Linked DNA regions of Homo sapiens: all the other regions are linked to region 4. The links are contacts of gene promoters, found by promoter capture Hi-C in human tissues and cell types (Jung and others, 2019). All regions are on one chromosome and are shown on one strand. Each heading gives the region's core, a stretch centred on a gene start or on the middle of the fragment in contact. The rest is flanking DNA. Distances are from core to core; before and after follow the strand shown.

Region 1 (3,117 bases), core at 91-2,590, 320 kb after region 4:
ATGAACCCGGGAGGCGGAGCTTGCAGTGAGCCAAGATCATGCTACTGCACTCCAGCCTGGGCGACAGAGCAAGACTCAGTCTCAAAAAAAAAAAAGAGTATGTAATGGAGATCTAGTAAGATTTAAATGGACCTGACTCATGGTAAGTACTCAACAACTATTACTTATACTTACATAATTGTCATTATTTAATCATTATTGTTATTATTTCTTCCACAAACCACTAACTCAGACATACATGTAGCTAAACTGCGGCTAGATGATGATGTCCTCTACCAAACAGTAATGAGATGATACTGCCAATGGTGGCCGTGCTGTCCTCAAGCTAATCACTTATTTATTGAACTCATGACTGGAGGTTTAATTATGCATGCACCCTTAGTGTTAAAGTTAGGTGATGAGTGCTTCATATGTTTATTCTTTGGTTCTCAGTACAGTACTTTTTAATGTAACATAACTTTGCACTAAAGGCACTCCTTAATCAGGTGTACACACCTGGCATTCGATTGATAAAATGAATTTCAACTAAGGAACAAATTAGAAATTAATGATTCTTAATAATTAGATATGAATATATTCAATAGAATGTATTAAGTGCCTAATGTATGCTAGGAAGGTTATATGCTGGGTAATGCAGCAGTGAGATAGGGTAGGTATGTTGCCTGTTGTCATGAGAGATACACATTACACAAGGTACACATCTATCTGTGTGTGTGTTTGTACACACATTTATATAATGAATTCAATTACATTTGATGGTACACACATACATATAGACACACATATATGTGTCATTTCAATTGTGGTTAAGTACTATGAAGGAAAAGTAAAAGGTTTTCTGAGAAGGTCTATTTCAGCTAAAACCTGAAGGGTGAGTGGGCTTTGGCCAGGCAGATCATTGCATGGAGAGGGAACCGTGTGTTTGAAGGTCCTGAGCTAGGCCAGTGGCCCATGGCTTCAGGAGCTAGAAGGCCAGTGTGTGTGTACATTCCTGAGAGAACAAAATGTTGTGCAGCAAATGAAGAAGTAGTTGGATGGAGCCAGGGTCTGCAAGGGCTGGTAGATCAAATGTAAGGATTTTTCTTGTATTGCAAGCACATATTAAAAGTCTTTAAGCACTGGTGGAACATGATCCAATGTGCATTTTTAAATACCTCTCAGCTCCTGTGTGGGGGATAGATTTAAAAGGGAGGCCCAGGGAAGAAAGTAGGGAGACCAGATTGAGGAGGCATGGTAGTGGCTTGGCCAAGGAGCAGCAGAAGAGACGGAGAAGAGGATTTTGGGGGTAAAGCCTCAGGATTGGGTGATAGGTAAGCTGAGCAGATTGAGTGAGGCAGATGGCTGGAATGAGTCTCAGGGTTCAGGCTAGATGTAAGTGCTTTTCACTGAGATGGAGAACAAGGGAGAAGGATCATGTTTGAGGGAGAAAGAAGAAGAAATCAATGGGCTGGTTATTGGCACCAGGTGAGCCTCTTGTTTCTGAAAGTGAGCACAAATGTTTTAAAAAGATATGTATGACAAAAAAGACAAATTTTAAGATTTGTTTGTTCTAGGTCTAGAGTCTGCAACTATTGTATGGGTATTAGCCTGGTAATATTAAGAGAAGAAAGAAATATAAATGTTTGGCCATCCTTTGACCTATGGAATTGTGCACAATGTGCAATTTTTTTTTTTTTTTGAGATAGTCTTGCTCTGTCACACAGGCTGAAGTGCAGTGGCGTGATCTTGGCTCACTGCAACCTCCGCCTCCCAGGTTCAAGCAATTCTCCTGCCTCAGCCTCCCAAGTAGCTGGGACTACAGACGTGCACCACCACGCCCGGCTAATTTTTGTATTTTTAGTAGAGACAGGGTTTCACCATGTTAGCCAGGATGGTCTCGAACTCCTGACCTCATTATCCGCCATCCTCGGCCTCCCAAAGTGCTGAGATTACAGGAATGAGCCACTACGCCCAGCCCCAATGTACAATTTTTTATTTCCTTTGGTATCAAACTAACACTTCTCTGCATTATACAGTATCATTACGTTATATAAAATTTTGAGTTTTAAAGACTTCAAGTAGTGTGATATTAACTAAGTCTTGATTTTGCAAAAAATTCAGAATAATGTCAATCCTCTAAGTTTAAAAATATTAAAAATTATAGTTTCAAAGCCGATAAACCCTGTGAATTCTGAATTGTGTTTATGCTACTTTCTTATGGCTGTGTCATTTTAACTAGTAAACAGAAACACCCATCATTGTTTTCTAGAATAGTGATGAACTATGACAATTTTGAATTATGTGAGATATAGAAGAATACATTTTTGCTTACAATGGTACTTCCTATCTGCAGAATTATAAAATTTTAGCTTAGAAATGGCCTTAACCAAGCCCCATATATGTAGCTTTATGCAATGTTATGCACCCAGGAGAATTAGTGAATCACATCCTTCCAAATATTTCACATATATTCTCAAATGTATTATTTTAAGAGTCTTCCTTCTCTTCCTTTTTGCCTCTTGTTTTCCCAAAGTGTAGTTTTAAAAGTAAATTGTTGGCAAGTTTGTAGGTAGTTTTTAAACTGCAGTGGTACGTGAGTAGAACAGCAAATATCAAATCAGAAATTATTCCTTACATTTCTATTCCCCCAAGGAAGAACAGCCGCAAGATGGAAAAAGGCCTGTCATCATCAAAACACATATGGAGAAAATAGTTTCCCAGTGAGAAGATAAAATTCTGTGGCTGTCTCTGCAGTTTAAATTACGAGTGCAAGATTTGTTCAAAAGACCTCGTATGCATTAGCAAGATGTAAACAGCAATCAGATTATTTGATCAATATGTGAAAAAAGTAAGCACACATACATGCCAGTGGAACTCTTTCTTTGGTTTTCAAAATTATTTATCATTTTGTGTAACGGAAACAATGAATATCACACCCTACCATTCATCTCAGGAAGGAATTCCCCATCTCCTGGTGACTTGTGAGAAAACAGGTCACAGGTTATAGGATGGTTTCTCTGCCCCTTACCAAGAGTAAGAATCTACAGGGCCATCATTCCTCAGTATGCATGACTTTATGGCGTTTCCATGCCTGTGGAGAGAATGCAAGATGAGGCCAAAATAAAAGACGATTTTTAG
Region 2 (2,958 bases), core at 280-2,779, 260 kb before region 4:
GGTGAATATCACCACAGCTGGCTTATTTATTTATTTTTTTAATTTCTGTAGAGACGGGATATAACCATGTTGTCCAGGCTAGCCTCTAACTCCTGGCCTCAACCAATCTGCCTGTCTGGGCCTCCCAAAGTGCTGGGATTACAGGCATGAGCCGCTGCATCTAGCCCACAGTAAGTTTTTAATTTAAAAAAATGGAAGCTTATCTATGCCCAGAAAAAGGGTAAAAGGAAACACAACAAAAAGTTGTTTTCTTTGGATAATATGATGGGAGTTACTTTTATTTTGTTTGATAAATTTCGGTATTTTCCATGATGAACAAATGGTACTTTCATTATTGGAAAATAAAGTAACAGTGTGAACTCTTTTATTTCATGGGAGTTTCATTTGTTATAACCATGAAATATTCAACATCTTTAATTTCTTTCTGCTTTTCAAGGAAACAACTGAGCTACACGATAAATGAAATAAACCACTTTTCTATGTCCAGTTCACATTTTCAAATTTAACAATGCTTGACATCCCAGGATAGCACAACTAATAAGTCAGCCATTCTTCATTATGATCAGAAACTTGTTTGAGTGGCAGTGCCAGTACTACTCAGCTTGCTGTACGGGAAGAGCAAGCCCTAGAAAGGCATGTTAATAGGGGACATTCCCAAAGCAAGGCTTACCATTTTGTGAATGTAGCTTCTGTTGAATTTAAATACTTCATCATATATAAGTTTTATGAAATATAAATCTCACATATGGAGATGAAGATGTGCTAGGACAGAAGTTTTCTTAGTCAATATGCAGCGTGTAGCTTTCTGCGAGGTAACACAGAGCAGGCTCACACCACCTAACAGAGCCTCACTCAGTGACACAGAGAGGTTCTGAACGCTGCTATTGTACCTGAGCTCTCGACCAATATCAGGTTGACGGGGATGCCATCCAATGAGGACAAGCAACAAGGTGCTCTGAGAGCCACTGTTAACACCAGACACATGTAAATGGCAATCCTATCTATCCTTATGGAATAAATATGGTGAGGATTAAATGAGTTAATATATGGAAAGCTTCTAGAACAATGCCAGGCACACAGGAAACACCAACTATGTCCCATTCGATATTATTCTAGAAAAACATAAGCTTCAAGACGTCAGGAATTTCCATCTGTTCTGCTTACTACCATCTCCCTAGCTCCTAGCATGCAGGTGATACTGAAAATATATTTCATGAATGAATAAATGCCAAGGTAAAAACAGAGGCAAACGCTTGGTCTGAGGGGCTTAGGGTGGTGCTTACTTCTAGGGGATGGGAGCCTCGGGGCTTGTATGTCAGGGATAACATAATGAGCTGCCAGCCCATGGCATCACAGGGATCAGCCAACCTCTATTCCTTGTAAATTAAGAGTCATTTTGGCCCAATTATCCACCTTCCAAACCTGTGTCTTCTCCTCCCTCACATCCTTTTATATACCTATCCTCCATCCCTCACAAACACCTGGCTATATCCTCAGCTTTTCAAAAACCTTCATTATACCGTTAGAGCAGAAGTTGCCAAACTTTCTCAGTTCATAGTGCTCTTACCTTTCAGTGATTTTTTTCATGGTACTCCTATGCAAAATCAACCTATCCATTCCATTTATTAAATAGCGAAGTCTAAGCAATCTCATAGTAGTCCTCTGCATGGTACCTAGCTGTGTTTCCCTTGAAAACGTGAACACTTACAACATGGTGTAGTTGTTCCAGTACTCCAGGGAGCCTTGGCCCACAGTTTGGGAACCAGGGCCTTAGCAATTTCCTCTTTCGGACAATTGCAACTAATTTGGAATGCTATTTAGTTCAGCCTCCTGGCTCCCGGCCACTTCTTCCTAGGGAATTTCCTCCTTTAATTGCTGGACAGAAATGCTGGTCCCAGTAGCACTGATGGCCCTGCACATGAAACGCAGCAAGCCTTGATGCTAGTTGAACTAAGAGAAAACCAATATCTCCAAATCTTAAAAACAGACAGACATGTTTAAGCATTTGGTGTAAATCCATGAAGAGAAGCTTAAGTCTGGAAAATACAATAGAGGTTCCATGCATCCTGGGAGCCCCAGCAAGCAGCTGACACCATGTTGAGTAGCGCTGCCTGCCCAGAGAGCCTCCCTGGGGCCAGAGTTCATGCACTGACATCCAGGGCACAATTCTGTTGTAAGTCAGCTTAGGCAAAGCATGCTGGGATGATGAGGGCTTTCTCGTTTTACCACATCCCAGAAGAAAACCATGTTTTAACCACAGTTTGGATGGTGTTTTGTTCCATTATTAAGGGCAAAGCAAAGCTTTTAATCTTAGTAACTGGACAGGAAAATAGAAAATACAACTATATTAAAAATGTACCTTGCTGATAGAAATAGTCTAGTAGTTACTAATAGGAAAAATAAGTAAATAGAAAAAGAAGAGAGAAGGAAACCCTTCAAGTTACAAGGGGAAAAAACGAGCAATAAAAGTAATTTTATAAAATGCTAAAAGATCTCTTCTTACAAATAAAGAAAATGCTACTGAGGAAAAAACACACACACACACACACAGGAAAATCCAACCACATCACCACGTCCACCTGCTCTTGGGCTGCCTGGTGCACCTGAGACCCCACGGAGTTGTTTCATGTGTCCCCACCATGACTGGTGCGCACTCTCCTGACTGATGTCACCCGCAGAACAGTGGGAGATCCTACTTCCTCTAGAGGCTTTCTCTGAACAGTGATGTCCCAAATGCAGCACAGGAAAGTGGGACTAACTCATAACAGAGTCCAGGTAATGCTCAGGCAAGAACAATGGTGCTCTGACCTTCGGGGTACTAGAAAGGGAGACCACAATGAGGCCCGGATGAAGACCAGGGATTTGTCTGTGAGATGACAGTGAAAGTGGCCTAGGAGTGGGGATGGAAGATATGCACGTTAGAGAGGGAAGGACAAGGGGGCACTCACTCCTTTGGCT
Region 3 (2,932 bases), core at 244-2,743, 290 kb before region 4:
ATGTATAAAGTGTGACTATGCCTTGTTTATAAATCTTTGCAATCAAGACAGGTAACTATGGTTTTCAAGGACAGCATGATATAAGCAAGCAAAGATAAGAACAAAACAGGCTTCAGAAGCCTCTTCCATTCCCATGGAAAATAGAAGGGAATCTAGAATGCTGGATCATTAACTTCACTAATTACAAATCAGATATGGCTCAATGTTTTATAGGAAGGAGATGAAAAAGTCTAGTCCTTGTTGGGCCTTTTTCACATTGAATTATCTCATAATTAAACCAAGCTGATGAGCAAGTGTTATCATACCCATTTTCCAGAAGCTGAGAAAAAGCAACTTGTCCCAGATGACTGTTTGATTCCCAGGCACCTTCTGCTTTTTCTACTGTGACCTACTTGCTGTGGGATACTATTTTCAGCCACATTCCTGACAACGTCAAACATCTGAATTATGCCATTAATTCTCCTTACTCTGAATCTGTGTTCACAAAGATACACAAATGTCTCTCCATGTAGTTCATGTGCTAGCCAGAGGAAACAGTGTCTTCTCAGATGGAGGGCTCTATTTTTCCATTGCCAAATAATAAACTGGAATTTCATTTCATCTAAGTCTTTTGGGAGCTTAGTTACCAAGAAGCTCATCCACACTCCTTGTACTGACAAAAAGCTTACTTAGTTCTCACAAACTGCAAGGTGAGTTCAGTGCTATTAGTTCCATTTAACAAATGAAGAATTAAGATTTAGTAGAGGGTGGAAATGGAATTCAAAGGAAGGTCAGTTTCTGAGTCTTTGCAAATAGGATGGTACCACAGCCTTCTTTCTTCTTCCTTCTTTGTGTAGGTGGCATGTTCCATGGAAGTCACAAAGAGAAGGAGCCAAAAGCAGCTTTGTGGTGGGGAACAATCCCATCAGATAGAGGAGTGCTAAGTGGAGATGGGAATGAGGCACTTCCCAAGCCACAAGGCCCCCTGAGCCACAGGCCCATGCTGGTGTCTTTATGTGAGACCATGTCTCCTTAATCACTACATGCCAGTATGTCACATAATGTCTGGAATACTTCTCAGTCACACCCAGCTTTAAGTGGATACCCCCCTGCACAGCATTCTAATAATAACAATGTAAGAGTGTAGGTACACAGAAGGTTAGCAAGCAGCTGTTCTCCTCCACCAGGGGAGAAGGAGAAGAAAACACCTACATTATAGCATGAGTCACTCAAAATAGATATATTCAAGAATATCCTCATAGTAAATAGAGCGGTAAATTCTCCCCTGGAAGCCTTTAAATATAAAATGTTTATCTGCCTGGGGCGGTTGCTTGGCATTCTCATTTCTGAGGGTAGGAGATGCTACCTAACCTTCAAGGATATGCAGTAAAATGATAACTTATTTATAATTATTTGCTTGGAAACAAATCTGTCAAAGATCAAAAGTCTAGGTCGGCTGGATGAAGCAATAAGCAGTGAAGCTTCTCTTCCATACCCTTTATATAACAATGCATTTACACAGAAAACTTCTAGGTCATTAAAAATCCATTTTTAAAAACATATATCAGTTGTAAAAAAAAAAAAAAAAAACTCCTAACATTTCAAAAGTTTAAAAAGTAAAAATTAAGTCTTCCACTCTCTCAACCCTTTAATTTCATGCCTCAGAGGTGATCAACTGCTAACAATCTTGTGTGTGCACTTTCAGATACAAGATCCATCTTTAAATAGTATTTTAAGGTTAGGGAGCAAGCCAAAGAATTTCTGTTCTGCTACCTGCATTTTCAAGTACCTGCCAGTATCTTATACTACAAACTTTCCATCTGTAATGGAGTTTCAAGTAAAATGAAATTAGGCTCCATTTCATTCCACACTAAATTTTTCTGACAATCCCTGTCAAGATTTTACATAGAAAATTGACTTGATTCTTACATAAGTTAAGAACCTTTGCAGAAGTGTAAAGGGGTAATATACTAGATCCTCATTATTTCTGCTTTAGCTAAGAGAGGTAAGAAGTATGAGGTCAGAATTCCAAGTTCAGAGAACTCTTTCCCTTGTAGGCTCTTATTTCTTCTACATTTCAGCAATAAGAATCAGAGGTAACATGATAGAAGAAAGACAATTACTGGAAAATGGTAGACAACCACTTCTTCAAAAGCAACTATGTCCATCATTTCCTTTAGCTGAAGGAATTATTTTCCTTCATTCTCTTATGGTACATAAAAACTAATATTGCTGTTTAAATTTTCTGTTTTGTGAAACTTCAGGGGGAAATCCTGAAATGCATTCTAACAAATGGCCAATTCTGCAACTCTCAATTCAGCAGTCTAGGTCCAACAGATACAGAGAATTTTATGGCTCATTTTCTCTCCAACACCTGCTCTCATTAGCTCAGCTTCTTTGAATGAAAAGACAACCAGACTGAAAATATAATTCCACTGACTAACAATTTAGAAAATCAGTTTTCATTGAAGTTCAAAGCTGTAAACCTGATTAGAAAAAACTGCTCCCTGATTGAAGCTGTTTATCTTGGTGGACAACAGCAGTTCCAAAGAGAATCAGCTTGGTATAGAATATTATTTCAAGCTCTTTCAAGAATAGGTTGTGTTCACATTCTATTCCCCCTTTCCAAAGGCACAAGTATGTCTCTACCACTTCTAATCAATGGAGATGCTCTTAATAGCCAACAAATAACTGTTTGAGAAGAAGAGAAGATTCAGAAATCCAGTGCAATTTTCCTGATGCTCACATTTTTGATGCATGAGTGAAATACCAAAGAACAAGGCAAGGTGAGATTCTTACTCTTCCTGGTATGCTTTCATTTTTCCAGGTACTTCTGAAGCCACTGTACTCTGGGGTAAGACTTCTGCTAACAGCAGAGAAACAAACAGCCTTACTACCCATTCCAGACTTTACCTGAAGCTCCCAAGGGAGGACACCTAGCACCAACTCCACC
Region 4 (2,940 bases), core at 324-2,823:
TCCACCTGTGTCACCCAGGTAATAAAGGTCATCCTGGTTGTAAACCCCTGTGACAGCGTGCCGGGTTCGCCCCCACGCCGGACCCCCGACTCCGATCCACAGATCCTCTCCGTGAGGGGTTCCTCTGGGCTTAGAACGCCCCCGCGCGCGCGTGCAGGCACACACGCGCACACACTCACACGCTTGCTCGCACACCGCCAGTGCCTCTCCTTCCCACCTGGGACCCCCGGGCAGCCGGGCTGGATGAACAAGTTGCAGCTGGCCGCGGCGCTCCGCTAGGGGGACGAGGGTGGGGAGGGGGAGCCCAGCGGGGCGCAGGGCCGTGGCCAGGGCCTGGGGACCTGCCCGCTTCCCTCCGCGGCCGCCAAGCCCTACCGCTGGGACCGGCGAGGAACTCCCCCCAGCCTCTCCGCAGACGCTGCACGACCGCGGGGACCTCCCGGGGTCGCCAGCCGCGCCGGGCAGGGGGCGACAGGGAGGGCAGGGCACCGGGAGATCGCCGCCGCCGGAGCGGCCGCCAGTTCCCGGCGATCGCTGCGGGCGCAGCCGAACACCAGCGGCCTGGGCCCGGCCGCTGCTCGGGGTCGGCGGGGACCGCGCAGCGCCTACGCCAGGCGGCCCGGCGGCTGCAACTGGGAACTTCAAGCAAAGTTTTCTGCTGTTCCTTTTGCAGCCGGCCAGGGACTCAAGAGTGCAAGCCGCCCAACCTTGAGCACTAGCCCAGGCCGCGGAAGGACGGCGGCCGAGCTGGCAGTCCCGGCTGGGGAGCTCGCCCTCGGGGTCCGTCCGCTCCGCCCGCCCGAGGACTGGGTGCCTGCCAGCCCCACGGCCCCTCGCCCAGCGCCCGGCTCACAGGCAGAAGCGGTGTCCGGCCCGCCGCGCCCCCCGCCCGGCCCCGACGCCAGCCTTAGGGCTCTACCACCAGGGAGCTGTCGGCGTCCCGGGCGTCCCGCGCCGGCCCGCGCGCCTCGGGGGCGGCAGAGGCGGTCCCGCTTACCTGAGAACGTCTCGCCCGCCGCAGTTAGCAAAAGTCCGGCCAAAGTCGCCAGGCAAGTCCCAAGTCCCCTCATGGTGCTGAGTGCGGGCCGGGCCGCTCCCCGGCGGCGGTGGGTGGGCGCGCGAGGGCGGAGGGGGCCGGGAGCTTTGGTTCCGAGGCAGCGAGGAGAGACGGGTAAACAGCAGAGCGCTAAGCCAAGCCCCCAAAGTGCCAACAGTTGCAGAAGTCCGAACTCCAGCGGCTCCAGGGGCGCGGGCACAGGGTCCTGGGTCCTCCTCCCCTGTCCCTGGCCCCACTCGGCGTCTGGCGCCGCTGGCAGAGGGAGCGGAGGGCGAGCCCGCGGAGCCAAAATCTTCCCTCGGTTCCGGTTGCTGAGCTCGCCGCCTCTCCCCTTCCCCTGCCCGGGACCCGGGACCCGAGCTGCCGGCCGTGGCCGTGGCGGTGGCCGTGGCCGTGGCCGCGCGCGTTCCGCCCGCCGCCTCTCCACAGGCAGCCCCAAGCCCAGCCCCGGGCGGCGGCGCGCCGATGACCGAGCCCGCGCCGGCTGCGCGCGGGGCTCTTGCTCCCCGACTGACTGGCGGTGCCCCGCAGGCCGGCTGAAGGGAGCGCTCACGTCACGGCCGCCCGGCGCCGCCGCGGCCCGCTAGAGGGCGTGAGCGCCCGTGCCCCGCCGGCCCGCGCCCGAGCGCCTCCGGGAGCTCGGCTGGGGGCGGCCCCGCGGCCACAGCCACTACCGCCGCCGAAGCGGGCGTCAGCCGCGCGGGGAGGAGCGGCCACCGGGCTCCCCCCGCCCACCTCCTCGCCCCGGCCGCGTCTTCTATTTTGGTAGCTGGCTCTGGGGAGGGTGACTGTGGAAGAGGCTGCGCCGCCGCCAGAAGTTTGTCCCGGGTCACGAGCCGCGAGTAGTTTGTGAGCGCGGCCGGGCGGGACCAGCGGCCTGCGACCCCGCGGGCGCGGCCAGGCGGCTTCGAGCCTGGCGCCGGACGGCGATGTCACCGCACAGGGCCAGCTGCACCCGGAGTCGCCGGGCCTGCGCTGCTCGGCGGCTGCGGGAAAAGCGAGCCAGGAGATCGCTGAGGCTCCGGAGGGCTGCGAGCTTCTCTACGCCGCGGGCGGAGCGAAGTTGGCGGGCGCCGGGAGATGGCGCGGGAGCCGGGAGCGCCGAGCCCCGCGATCGCCAGCCCGCTCCCGGCCGGGCCCGCCGGGTACACGCCGCTGGCCCCGAGCACTGGCGCCCGGGAAGCAGGGCGCGCTTCTGCTGTTCTGCGTCCTCATCATGCCTCGGTGTCCCGTGTGGGCCCGAAGCGAGCCGCAGGCAGTACACGGAAGGCGGTGGTCACACCAAAACCAGGGTTTGGACATAACCCGTGGTTTCTGTATCTGGTGCAAAGTGCTGAGAAACAGGGGAGAAAGAGAAGTGGGGGGTGAATCAAGTAATGTCTTGAAATATTTTAGTTTTACGATTTTGGGTCTGAGTGAATTAAAAAAACCTTACAATGCTTCAGCAAAAAATAATTTTTTTATTTTAATTGTAAATTTTTTTGTAAGTGATCCTTCTATCTTCCAGGGAATAAGCACATTGAGCCAGCACCAACCAGACAGCTGTAAGCTCCTGGCCTAGCTAACTGAACGCAATAGAAGGCTTGGGAAGAGGTTAAATTAGGAACCAAAGTAACTGAGTGACAGGGTTCTAGCAATGATTCTGGCTAGAAGGCAAACCGGTGATACAGAGGCACCCAGGAGCTCTCCTGCACTTTTTCCGCAAGAGGGGTCCTCTGCTTAGTGCTCACTGCTTTCTAGTGCTTATAAACACGTAAAAAAATAAATGGATTCCACACTCATCTTGACCCTGTTCTCCACTGTACACCAGAACCAAGAAAGATACAGCTGTCATCCTCCCAAGGCAAATTTGGGGACTAGAAGACTTGCCTTTAGTGTGGCAA

Evidence for each region. Contacts are between HindIII fragments. The study calls those that stand out against the background at their distance.
Region 1: a fragment that was not itself captured here is called in contact with the fragment with the promoter of PTPRM in region 4 in 1 of the 25 tissues and cell types used here (H1 embryonic stem cells).
Region 2: a contact is called between a fragment that was not itself captured here and the fragment with the promoter of PTPRM in region 4, in 4 of the 25 tissues and cell types used here (dorsolateral prefrontal cortex, heart left ventricle, mesenchymal stem cells and 1 more).
Region 3: a fragment that was not itself captured here is called in contact with the fragment with the promoter of PTPRM in region 4 in 3 of the 25 tissues and cell types used here (heart left ventricle, lymphoblastoid cells and spleen).

What each region holds. Positions count from the first base shown.
Region 1 is chr18:7,243,679-7,246,795 of GRCh38, reverse strand. No RefSeq gene overlaps it. Among named protein-coding and RNA genes, the nearest start is that of LRRC30, 14 kb to the right of the region's middle. The HindIII fragment of the contact is 6,137 bases long and covers 1-3,117 here.
Region 2 is chr18:7,824,020-7,826,977 of GRCh38, reverse strand. The region is part of intron 2 of PTPRM (protein tyrosine phosphatase receptor type M); the gene reads right to left. Among named protein-coding and RNA genes, the nearest start is that of PTPRM, 260 kb to the right of the region's middle. The HindIII fragment of the contact is 4,051 bases long and covers 1-2,958 here.
Region 3 is chr18:7,853,369-7,856,300 of GRCh38, reverse strand. All of the region lies in intron 2 of PTPRM (protein tyrosine phosphatase receptor type M), which reads right to left. Among named protein-coding and RNA genes, the nearest start is that of PTPRM, 290 kb to the right of the region's middle. The HindIII fragment of the contact is 4,096 bases long and covers 1-2,932 here.
Region 4 is chr18:7,565,949-7,568,888 of GRCh38, reverse strand. PTPRM (protein tyrosine phosphatase receptor type M) reads right to left here and starts at 1,573. Exons shown (of 33, transcript NM_001105244.2): 1 at 998-1,573. The coding sequence starts at 1,070. RefSeq lists a silencer at 1,523-1,892. The HindIII fragment of the contact is 7,623 bases long and covers 1-2,940 here.